3 separate regions of the Homo sapiens genome follow, and regions 1 and 2 are each linked to region 3. The links are contacts of gene promoters, found by promoter capture Hi-C in blood cells and fetal thymus (Javierre and others, 2016). All regions are on one chromosome and are shown on one strand. The core of a region is centred on a gene start or on the middle of the fragment in contact, and the rest is flanking DNA. Distances in the headings are between cores, read along the strand shown. Region 1 overlaps GRB10 (growth factor receptor bound protein 10). Region 2 overlaps GRB10 (growth factor receptor bound protein 10). Region 3 holds the start of IKZF1 (IKAROS family zinc finger 1).

The links. Contacts are between HindIII fragments. The CHiCAGO score rates a contact against its expected background, and 5 or more counts as called.
Region 1: a contact is called between a fragment that was not itself captured here and the fragment with the promoter of IKZF1 in region 3, in 7 of 17 cell types (fetal thymus, M2 macrophages, total B cells and 4 more). The highest score is 8.4, in fetal thymus.
Region 2: a fragment that was not itself captured here is called in contact with the fragment with the promoter of IKZF1 in region 3 in 5 of 17 cell types (naive CD8 T cells, fetal thymus, total CD4 T cells and 2 more); the score reaches 7.8 in naive CD8 T cells.

The regions. Positions count from the first base shown.
Region 1 is chr7:50,679,424-50,683,458 of GRCh38, forward strand. The region is part of intron 5 of GRB10 (growth factor receptor bound protein 10); the gene reads right to left. Among named protein-coding and RNA genes, the nearest start is that of GRB10, 100 kb to the right of the region's middle. The HindIII fragment of the contact is 3,319 bases long and covers 170-3,488 here.
Region 2 is chr7:50,736,140-50,740,012 of GRCh38, forward strand. The region is part of intron 3 of GRB10 (growth factor receptor bound protein 10); the gene reads right to left. Among named protein-coding and RNA genes, the nearest start is that of GRB10, 45 kb to the right of the region's middle. The HindIII fragment of the contact is 511 bases long and covers 2,369-2,879 here.
Region 3 is chr7:50,302,187-50,306,175 of GRCh38, forward strand. It overlaps IKZF1 (IKAROS family zinc finger 1), which reads left to right and starts at 2,530. Exons shown (of 8, transcript NM_006060.6): 1 at 2,530-2,736. RefSeq lists an enhancer at 487-988 and a silencer at 1,843-2,642. The HindIII fragment of the contact is 6,071 bases long and covers 1-3,989 here.

The DNA of each region.
Region 1 (4,035 bases), core at 579-3,078, 380 kb after region 3:
AATACATTTCTTAGTTTACAGCACCATCTAGTGTCTTCTTTACATTGTTTAGGGATTAAAGATGACACTGGATTCACTTTACTAAATGATTTGGCAACATAAGGACATGTTATTTGCACCATGTGTTTAGGACGTGTCCATTACGATCCCTTCTTCACAGACCTACACAAGCTTCCATCAGTGTGCGATGCCTTCAGAGCTTTCTCCACTACCCCCTTCCCCCATTTTCATATGGAAGATATACCCTGTTAAGTCATAAACAGCTGGGGTGGGGGTATATCATTAAGTCAAAGCAGATTCAGTCCCTAAGAAACAGATAAATGGCACTTTACATGAAAAGTCTCTAACACATGTGCAAAAGCCAAAGTCCTTACACATTTCTATCTAGAAAAGAAGTGAAGGTCAGGCTGCAAAAGTGTTTTCCACTAGACCATGTTCACTTGGCAAGCAATTTCTGTTAACTTCTAACCAATTAAAACTTTGTGCAAATATAACTTAACCTTCTACTGAAACAGCTTTCTGAACAACAATTTATCTTCTATTCTCATGTATTCTAGTCACATGCACTTAATTTCCCATATATAGAGTTTGGACATAAGTAAGTAGAATAAGAAAACCAGGTATTATATGGTTAGAGTATTCTTCTCTATCATATTTATGGTATTTAAAGATATTCAGCAAACACAAAAGCAAACCACCTAACCACAACTCCAAATAAAAATACAAATGGAATCAATGCTTTATTTCACGGGTTCCTACACACAGGCAGGATTTGAGGCAGAAAATAAAATCCCTAGAATTAGTCTGTCCAGCAAATGCATATAAATATCCTTGTACCTAGAAAGAGCTACACAGTCATAACTCTTGGCTTTCAGTGTTTATAAGAGAAACTTCCTTCTCCCAACCTTTGTTGAAAATGGCATCCTCTCCTCTCTACCCAGCTCACAAAAGACAAGGGGAACCACCATTTTCAGTCTCTAGTAATTGAGAAAACACATATCAACAAACTGATGAATTTAACAATTTGTAAGAATATACGTTTTTTGGTTTTTCATTATGTACAGACACATCTGCAAAAGAGTCGTGGCCTATGCTAATGGGCAGTGGCAGGGCTCCAATCAGTGCTGGTGCCTATGGAGACTCAGAAGTCTCCACTCCGACTCCCAGGACCCACAGGCCACATGGGCAGAATCGCCATCCAAAGCATATTCAAAGTTTGTGATGACATAAAATGGGACAAAAATAAACATATATCCTGGGCATAACATAGTTAGACAAAGCTAAAATCACAAGGATCCTCTCAGTCTGCTGAGGCTACACTCACTTGTTCCTGATTACTATTTACAGGTGGTTTCTTAATTATTTTTCTTAGAATGTTTTTTTTCTTCTCCTAAGACAAATGCAGGCTAGTGTATCCAGGAAGGCTGCATGCATATTTAATCCTATATCCAATTCCCTGAGGGCAGGGGCATTGTCTTCTGCTACCTTGAAACTCCATCCAGACCCTCCTCCAAGAAGATCCCAATATGACTTACAGATCCAGGGCCCTACTCAACAATTCTACAGATAACACAAAATATGGAGACTACTGATTCTCTGCTTTCATAAAATCTGTCCTCTGCTCTCCTTAAAGCTACATTTAAATATACACATTCTTTCTAAATAAAGCACTACCCCGCCCTTTGAGTGTTTAAGTATCTATGGCTGCTATTTAGATTCAAAGCAACTAAGAAGCGACTGAGAGCCAAATCTCAGTCTACAACCACGAAGATGAGGCACAGAGCAGGCACAGCTCATGAGCTGCCTGGCAGGGTGCAGAAGGCTGGGAGACAAGAAGGGGAGCCCCTCCACGGAGAAGCCTCCGGCTCTACCCCAAAGACTACCATCGGATATGCAGACAGCCCTGAGCTGCATCCCTGGCCCTTTTGGACTTTAGGCAAGCTGCTCCAGTCTTCCGGCCTCCTCTTAGTCCCAACTCGAGGGGCGATGGTGTTTATGGCTCCCAGGATGCCGCCCGACCTTAAGGCTCTCCAGACCCTTTCTTCTTTGTTTCCTTGAAAATGTGACTGTTAACAGTGGATAGAGAAAAACCTGTATTTTACAAATGAGCTGCTAAAATCATATCTCCCTTGTGGAAGGAGAGAGGATTCTTACAACGCAACAACCAGGAAATGATTCTGTTGCCAGAATAATCTGGTTTATGAGCCTCTTTCCTCTGTGTGCACACGGAGCCTGCCATGAAGCACTGAAAAGACTGCCTGGGCATCTGAGTGTATTTGAGTTTATGGGGCTCCTTCAAAATGCAAAAGTAAACATTTGACATGCTTTCTTCAAGTTTCCATTTGCATTTTTCACGTTTCACGGGGGCTGCACCCTTGCCTTCCATGTGAGGTGTAACTTCCCCTTTTAAGTCATTTTGCCCTAGCCTTCCTGCTTCTGCGCCTGGTAGGAGTTTAATTTCACCAGCCAGGGCTGCCAACCTAATAGAATTTCTGACTCTGGGTGTGTCAGTGCTGAGCAGAGGAGTCTCTGAGCCCCGGGTTGATGAATCCTGAGTGTGTCAGGTGATCCTTAGAAGAAACAGAGCAGGAGATGGTAGGGGGCTTTGCTTTCCTTGGCTGGAGGCAGCCCTGCTACCCACTCAACCCAATGTTTCTGTTGCCCCCCAGCACTGGCCACCTTGGGAACCAAGATATTGGGAAGGGACCTGAAGGGCATAAGGGAATCCAGAGACTCTTGAGAAGGGATCGTAGCTCACCTCAGAACGCCTGGAGCAGTTGGCTAAACACAGCAATTTTAGGAGCCCCTGACCCCTTTGTCCAGAGTGTGGTGAGTCACTCCAGTGAGGAAGAGAGTTTGGCAGGTGGCAGCCTGCCTTGGCATCTGTTTGGGTAGATTGCTAGGCTCTGCTCATTTTGGCCTACACCTCTGCTGACGTTTTCCCCAGGCTCTGGGATTTAGGTGGGAAAAGTCATTAACGTGCCCTCAGGCAGGGTCAGAGCCATGATATCTGCTATTTGGTGTTTTTGGGTAAGTGTGTGAAAAGGATTGGTAACCGTATTTGAAAATCAATGATCATGTCGGCTCAACATCACCCGAACAAAGGGATGACCCTCATTTTTGCTTTTTATCTTTCAGGCCTTTAGTATTTCCAGTTAAGTATTTGACAAGTTAAAAACCAATATATATACTACTTTGTTTCTGTACTTTTTGGCTTGTCACTTTATAGCAGTGGTTTGAAAAGTTTTAAATCAGAAATGAGTATTTACACTTTGGAAAATATATTTGAATCAGAGAGGAAAGGTGGCCTAAGGAATGAGATTTCATGACAGAAAATGGTTTTTATTAATTAGTAACTGTCAGCATATATTTTCTGGTCCAATTCAAAGGGGAGGGAAACATAAATCTGTTAAATCTCAACGCTCACACTGAAATGTTGCAATGGGGAAATTTGGGCTTATTCATATTCAATAATTAAATATCTTCAAAGCTTAGAAGAAATACAAATTTGTTTTTCTTTCTTTGTTCTATTTTTAAAAAGTAAAAGCAGGTATATACCCCCCAAAATTGAAAGTAGGGACTTCAACAGATAATCGTACACCCTTGTTCACAACAGCACTATTCACAACCCAAAGGCGGAAACAGCACAAGTGCCCCTCAACAGATGAACAGATGAAGAAAATGTGGCACATATACACACAATGGAATATTATTCAGCCACAAAAAAGGAAGGTGCCTCTGAAACGCACTAGAACTCAGAAGAACCTTGAGGACATAATAAGCCAGTCACAAAAGGATAAACACTATCTGATTCTGCTCATGGGGTCCCTGGAGTAGTCAAATTCCTAGAGATAGTGGAATGGTGGTGGCCAGGGGCTAGGGAAGGAAATGGGGTGTTATTTATTTGATGGGTACAGAGTTTCATTTTTGCCAGATGAATAGAGTTCTATGGATGGATGGTGGTGAAGGTTGTGCAACCATGTGAACGTTCTTAATGCCATTGAAATGTGCATTTAAAAATGGTAAGGATGGGCT
Region 2 (3,873 bases), core at 1,374-3,873, 430 kb after region 3:
GCCAGGTGTGGTGGTATGTGCCTGTAATCCCAGCTACCTGGGAGCCTGAGGCAGGAGAATTGCTTGAACCTGGGAGGTGGAGGTTGCAGTGAGCCGAGATTGCGCCACTGCACTCCAGCCTGGGCAACACAGCCAGACTTCATCTCAAAAAAACAAAAGAAAACAAAATGAACAATAACAAAAAAACTTACTACCAGGCTACAGTAATCAAAACAGTCTGGTACTAACATAAGGACTAACATACACCAATGAAATAAAACAAACAGCCCAGAAATAAATCCTCACATATATGGTCAACTGATTTTCAGTAAGGATGCCAAGACCATTCGCTGAGGAAAAGACAGGCTTTTCAATAAATGAATGGTTCTGGGGGCTGAGTATGGTGGCTCACGCCTGTAATCCCCATACTTTGGGAGGCAGAGACAGGTGGATTGCTTGAGCCCAGAAGTTTGAGAACAGCCTGAACAACATGGTGAAACACCGCCTCTAAAAAAATTAGCCAGGCATGGTCACGTGCACTGTAGTCCCAGCTAATTGGGAGGCTGAGGCAGAAGGATCAAATTAAGCACAGGAATTGAGGATGCAGTGAGCTGTGATTAACGCCACTACACTCCAGCCAGGGCAACAGTGAGACTGTTTCAAAAAAATAAAAATAACCAATTTTTTTTAAACGGTCCTAGGAAAACTGGACATCAGCATGCAACAAAATGAAGCTGGACTCTAAACTTACACCATAAGCAAAAAGCAACTCAAAATGTATGAAAGACCTAAACGTAAGAGCTAAAACTATAAAACTCTTAGAAGTAAAGACAGGGAAAAATCTTCATGACATTAAATATGACAATGATTTCTCAGATATGACACCAAAGGTGCAGGCCGAAGAAAAAATAAACTGGGTTTCACCAAAATTCAAAATGTTTGTGCATCAAAGGATGCTATCAAAAGATTGTAAAGACAACACATAGAATGGGAAAAAATACTTACAAAGCATTTATCTGATAAGGGATTAAAACCCAGAATATATAAATGATATGGTTTGGCTCTGTGTCCCCACCCAAATCTCATGTTGAACTGTAATCCCCAGCGTTGGAGATGGAGCCTGATGGGAGGTGACCGGATCATGGGGGTGGTTTCTAACGGCGTAACACCATCCCCCTAGTGCTATCTCATGATAAAGGTCTCATAGCATCTGGCTGTTTAAAAGTGTGTAGCACCTCCCTCTTCACTCTTTCTCCTGCTCCAGCCACGTAAGATGTGCTTCCTTCCCCTTCACCTTCCTCCATGAGTCTAAGTTCCCTGAGGCCTCCCCAGCCATGCTTCCTGTACAGCCTGCGGAACTGTGAGTCAATTAAACCTCTCTTCTTTATCTCTTCTTTATAAGTTACCTAGTCTCAGGTAGTTCTTTATAGCAATATAACAACAGACTAGGCCGGGCGTGGTGGCTCACACCTGTAATCCCAACACTTCGGGAGGCCGAGGCAGGTGGATCACCTGAGGTCAGGAGTTCAAGACCAGCCTGGCCAACATGGTGAAACCCCATCTCTACTAAATATACAAAAATTAGCCGGGCATGGTGGCAGGCACCTGCAATCCCAGCTACTCAGGAGGCTGAAGCAGGAGAATTGCTTGAACCCAGAGGCAGAGGTTGCAGTGAGCTGAGATCACGCCATTGCACTCCAGCCTGGGCGACAAGAGCAAAACTCTACCTCAAAAACAAACAAACAAACAAAGAAACAAAAAAAACAGACGAATGCAATAAAGAATGCCTACAACTCAACAACAAAAGACATAAGCAACCTCATCTAAAAAGGCACAAAGGGCTTGAATAGACTTTTCTCCAAAGAAGATATACGAATGGCCAAAACGCACATGAAAAGGTCCTCAACATCACTAGTCGTTAGGGAAATGCAAATCAGAACTGCAACAAGATACCACCTGACACTCATTAGGCTGACTGATATAAAAAATAAAACCACAAGTATTGGTGAGGATGTGGAGAAACTGGAACCCCTGAGCATTGCTGGTAGGCATGCAAAATGGTGTTGCTGTGGTTGAAAATAATATGGTGATTCCTCAAAAATATTAAACATAGAATTAACATATGACCCACTTCTAAGCATATAATAGCAACTCCACTTCTAAGCATATAATACAAACTAATCAAAAGCAGAGGCTCAGGTACTTCTATACCCATGTTCATAGCAGCACTATTCACAATAGCCAAAAGGTGGAAGCAACCTAAGTGTCCACTGATGAATTAATGGATAATTCATCAACAGACAAACAAAATGTGGTATATACATACATGGAATGTTAAGGGACACGGTCTCCCTCTGTCACTCAGGCTGGAGAGCAGTGGTGTGATCAAAGCTTGCTGCAGCCTCAAATTCATGGGATCAAGCAATCCTTAGCCTCCCAGGCAGCTGGGACTTATGGGACTAGAGGAGTTCACCACCATGCCCAGATAAAAAGCTCACTTCTGAACATCCTACAGTTATACAACTGGATCATCTACTGTGCTACTTTAAAGAGTTCAGATTCTAAATCATCAGCTGATTTATCAAAATATGTGATTCATATTCACAGATAATGAGGAATAGTTTTATAAGCCAGTAGATAGATAGCAGCTTTCTGTCTATAATAACTAAAGACTTTCTCATTAACCGTTGTCAGATGATTAAGAAATTGTATCAATATCTGTTGTCTTTTTGCTTCCCTTGATTAAAAGGGCCTACTAACAAGTTTGGCTTGCTGTGGTGGTTTCACATTGTTCTTTTAATGTCGAAGGTTAAACCCTCCTTTGCAAGATTATCATTATAAATAATATATTAAAATTTGTTTATTTTAATTAATGAAAATTTAAATAATCTTCATGATAAAGCTTAAACTTCTTTATTGGACTATAGTTCAGAAAAATCGTTCAAGCAGAGTCAAAAGTTTACTCATTCTAAAGTCAACATTTTTCTTAACAATGCCAATATTTACACTTCTGGATCCAGCAGCTGAAGTTGAACGTCTTTGTGTTTCCGATTATATGGGTTGTTTTTTGTTTTTCCATGTTAGGGCAACTTGTACTAGTTAAATTAAAATGATACAACTGTCATAAACTTCAAAAATGTTGCACCCAATAACACTTTTTCTGAAAAGTACATTGGGTGTTCCTAACTGAAACTCTAGAGTCTAGCAGACTGTAGATGATACTCTTAGGCCCTCACCTCGCAGCTAATTGCAAATTATGTTTATGGTGGATTTAAACTGTAGAGCGTTTACCCTCCCTTCTGAAAAGATAGTCAAATAGACATCTTCTAACCCAATGCCAGTAAGCAGATGACCAAATGACACATCCGTGACCAATCCATGCTCACCTTGTCTATCCCGCATGGCATGTGGCTCATCACACATGGCAACGTACTAAGTGCATGCTAAGAACCCATGCAATCCACTCTCATATTTCCTTTTCTGTTCTACTGTATTTATTAAAAACGCTTTTCATGACCTACTAACTTGATTTCAAGACCCGGTAACAGGTTGAAACCTACAGTTTGAAAATAGGGCAGGGCTGTGTTTGGGCTTGTGGTCAACATCGGGGTCACCAACTTCAGTTGGAGGGCCCGCTCCCTCACGTCCCCTCCCATGCCTGCCCCTTCACATCCAAGTGCTGTCCAGGGCACAGAGAGGCTGGCCCACTGGCCTTTCTCTTTCTATTCCCTCTTCACCCCTCAGTCCTCATTTCTCTCCTCCCTGACTCAGGAGAGCCAGAAACATTCCCAGCAAACACCACAGCTCTTATGCCACCTCTTCCTGTGACTCCCGCTCTTTGAAAACACAGCTCATCTGCTTAAAGGAACCTAGCCAGCCCGGAAACTGTGTGAG
Region 3 (3,989 bases), core at 1,280-3,779:
GGCTTTGAGAGATTAAGGACCTCAGTCAGATTCATAAGCCCAAACTATCTGGGCTCTTAGCCCCACATGCTCCTGCCTCAGTGGGCTACACCTTGGTGAGATGCCTATGTTTCGGTCCACTGGTCCACTCCTGAAGACCAAGGCACAGGTTTAGAGAGACGTACCAGCGGCTAAAGGTACTTCTGCATCCAAGAACTAGAGGTGTCCCGTGTCCCCTTTACAACATTGTTGGCCTCCCTCTGGGCCTTGTACCTTATGTTTATTGCCTCATTTAATCCAGGTAAGGAGTCTTTAGGATTGGTGGCATGTATTCTTTTTATAGACAAGGAAGATGATGCTCAGGAGTTTGGATAACCTGCCCAAGGTCACGCAGTGGAGGAGAGGACTAGAAGGTAAATCAATGGACCTTTCACTACCTTCCCCTTCTCTGGGCTGTAGCAGTGAGTTAACTGGCTCAGACTTGCCCAGCGGAATGCCCTTCAGGACACACTGAGTACTGTAGTAAGAGCTGCATATGCGCTCAGGGAGAATGTGGATAGACGCTGTTTGTGATTCACGGGTAAAGGGCCTTCTCCCAGAGGCAGCAGAGGCAGATCCTGTCTCTGGTGTGCCCTGGCCCCCGACTTGGAGGCCTCCTGGGCCAGGCCAAGACCTTCCCCGGCAGCGATGGTCTCCAGCCACACTCAACTGCCCTGAAGGGACATTTCCTGCTTATTCCCTTGCCCGGCTGTGTCCTCCACCCGGAAGGCCTGTGCCTTCTTCGCCTGCATGTCCTACCCTGAGGAGGCTCCCTTGGTCTTTCATCGCTCTCCCTATGGGTCTTCACGCCTTCCCGAACCACCGCGCCCAAGCAGGAGCACGTTCTCGGCCCTCTTCACAGGGCGCTCCTCCTCACAGGGGTGCCCGGGATTTTTATTCTGTGCCTTCCTGGTGGCTCCTACAAGTCTGGAAGGGCAGGAGGCGCATCTCACTCCTCTGGGTCCCCTCCCCTAGCGCCTGGCGGGAGCCCAGGCTGCATTTGTGGAATTCATGACTTTTTCTCTCCTGCTCAAGCTGAACACATTGCTGGCTCCTGCTCGGGTGGAGCCCGGCTAATTAGAGTGAGGGGCTCCCCGTAGGGCGAAGGGGTGCGCTGTCAGATGTGGCATTCCCGTTTTACGGAGACACACGGTGTCTTACACGCCAGGGAGAGGTCTGAGACGCAAAGAGCCGTCGAGCGGGCTGCGGGATTGCTTCGCTGTCACCTCCGCCTGCAGCCACCCTTCCGCACGCACTTGTGTGTGCACCCAGGCCAACATGGAAGGCGCCATCCTAACTTCTGCCGTGAGCAGGTGGGAGGGAAGAGAGACGAGAGGTATTCCATTGGTTGTCTGGGAAAATGAATTGCACCTTCCCCTCCCTTGCGGAGGATCAACTTTTCCCACCCCCTCGGGTGGGCACTCGCATCCTGGGGCCGGAGCCTGAACCCGGGAGCCAAGGGGCCCCAGTTCCAGGGACGTGAAGCTGAGCGTACAGCGGGCGCTCCCAGACACTGGGGAAAGTGCTTTACGATGTCCCGAGTCCCTCCAGTCTCGCCAGCGGGGCGAGCGTGAGGGTGCCCCGACCGACCAGCGGCCCCGGGTGCAGGGTGGCGGGCCCGGCGGCGCGCGTCCCCCTCCCCCTCCTGGCGGCCCGCACGTGTCGCCCGCGCCGCGCCCCCACGGGTTACGCGCGGGTCCCGCAGCGCCGCGGCCGAGCCGGGCTGCCCGGCCCGCGGACACAGCGCCGGCCGCCGCATCCCGTGCGGGGCCGCGGCGCGATGCTGCGCTGGAATGAGGAAGCGCGGCGGCGAGGGGAGGGCCCGGGCGCGGTGCGCGCGGGGGTGGCGGCGGCGCGCCGAGCGGGCCCGGCGCGGGCGAGCGGGCTGCAGCCGGCGGCGGCGCCAGCAGGTACGGCCCGCACCCGCCGCCGCCCCGGCGGCCTTTGGGGGCTGAGCCGGAGCCCGGCGCGATTGCAAAGTTTTCGTGCGCGGCCCCTCTGGCCCGGAGTTGCGGCTGAGACGCGCGCCGCGCGAGCCGGGGGACTCGGCGACGGGGCGGGGACGGGACGACGCACCCTCTCCGTGTCCCGCTCTGCGCCCTTCTGCGCGCCCCGCTCCCTGTACCGGAGCAGCGATCCGGGAGGCGGCCGAGAGGTGCGCGCGGGGCCGAGCCGGCTGCGGGGCAGGTCGAGCAGGGACCGCCAGCGTGCGTCACCCCAAAGTTTGCGGGGTGGCAGGGCGCGCGCTCTGGCCACCCGCCGCTCTGGGCGGCAGCTGGTGGCAACGCAAGGGCGCGGCGGGGGCGGCCGGCGCGGAGGGGGCCAGGTACGGGGCCCGCGGGCGGCGCTGTGCGCGCGGGGCAGCCGGTCGGCCGGGAGCGCGAAAGCCTGGTCTGAGCCGGCTGGGGGCGGGGAGTGTGGCGGAGAAATGGGGAACAATGCGAGTGAGCAACTTCAGGAAGTCATTGTGAAAGAAAGCTGGGAAGAGCTCCGCGGCCAAGTTAGCAGGACACTCTAACAAGTGACTGCGCGGCCCGCGCCCGGGGCGGTGACTGCGGCAAGCCCCCTGGGTCCCCGCGCGGCGCATCCCAGCCTGGGCGGGACGCTCGGCCGCGGCGAGGCGGGCAAGCCTGGCAGGGCAGAGGGAGCCCCGGCTCCGAGGTTGCTCTTCGCACCCGAGGATCAGTCTTGGCCCCAAAGCGCGACGCACAAATCCACGTGAGTGTTTTCAAATTGAATTTCAATAGGAAAACTTGGGGTAACTGGTGAATTTAAAAAAAAAAAAACACAGTAAAGAAAAGCGGTAAGGTTGGTAGACCCTGGTGTCGCTCAGGTCCGCCTCTCTTTTCTGAGGACAGTGAGAGAGTTCACTTCTGTCAAGCGTCTGTTGCTCTGCACTGTGCCAGCAGGTGCAGGACCAGGCCGACATGGGACACTTCTGAGCAGCCCCGCTGTCACCAGGAGAGGAGTTCTAGCTCCCAACCATATTTAAATTTATGTAGACCTACATATACCCACGGAAGTCAGCCTTTATAAAGTCGTGTGTAAAGAGTTTTCCTTATATTTGAGCCGGGAGCTTTCTTTTTATACTATAAATATGATGAGATCGAGTCTGAACTTAATTTCTGCAAGAGAGGAATTATCCCGGCTTTGAAAAGTTAGTCCTTTTGCTGACCGCAGGTTTGACGCTCAAGTCACCAAACCTTCTCAGGAAAACCCTTAGTAATATTAAGGCATCAGGTTACTTGCGGTTATATTTGAAATGTATTTTAAATATTTGTCAAGCATCGCTGCTGATGCCTAAGGAACCTCGTGAGGGCTTGTTTTTCCTTCTAATTTGGAGGCATCTAATGACCGAAAACCGTAGCGATTCCATAGGGTCTGACCAGGCACAGCTTTCAAATGCAGCTTCCCTCTCTCTAGGGACTGCAGCCCACCCAGACTGAATTTCAATGCGGTGCGCTTTGCTTAGGTTACCCACTCACAATTTCCCACTGCGCCGCAGGCAGTATATTTCAGCTTTGAGATACCTTGTTTTAAAATTCCAGACAAAATGGTGTTGAGGAAATGTCTCCTTACTAGTCCCATCAACTTCTGTTAAAAGAGGAAAATTTATGGAATTTGAAAATACTGCGTATGATATTTAAACTTTCATAGACATTCAAATGCTTTTAAGGCCAGGTTCAATTTGGTTATGAGTCGAGGGGTGGGGGGGACCCACATAGAAATGTCCTGGGTCCTCTTGAGTTTATTTCTTTGTTTGAAGATGTTTGTTCAATGAGTTTTATTGTACTCATCTTTTATATGGAATTTTAAAAAGTAACAATTTCAGTATTATTTATATTAGAATGTGTCAGAATTATTTCCGTGACAAATCAGATCATTTGGGCTATGGCTTAAAATGTACACGAGGCAAATATTCATGACAAGAAGATTCACCTTCTTACGCTGGCATCTTGTAAAATGCAGAA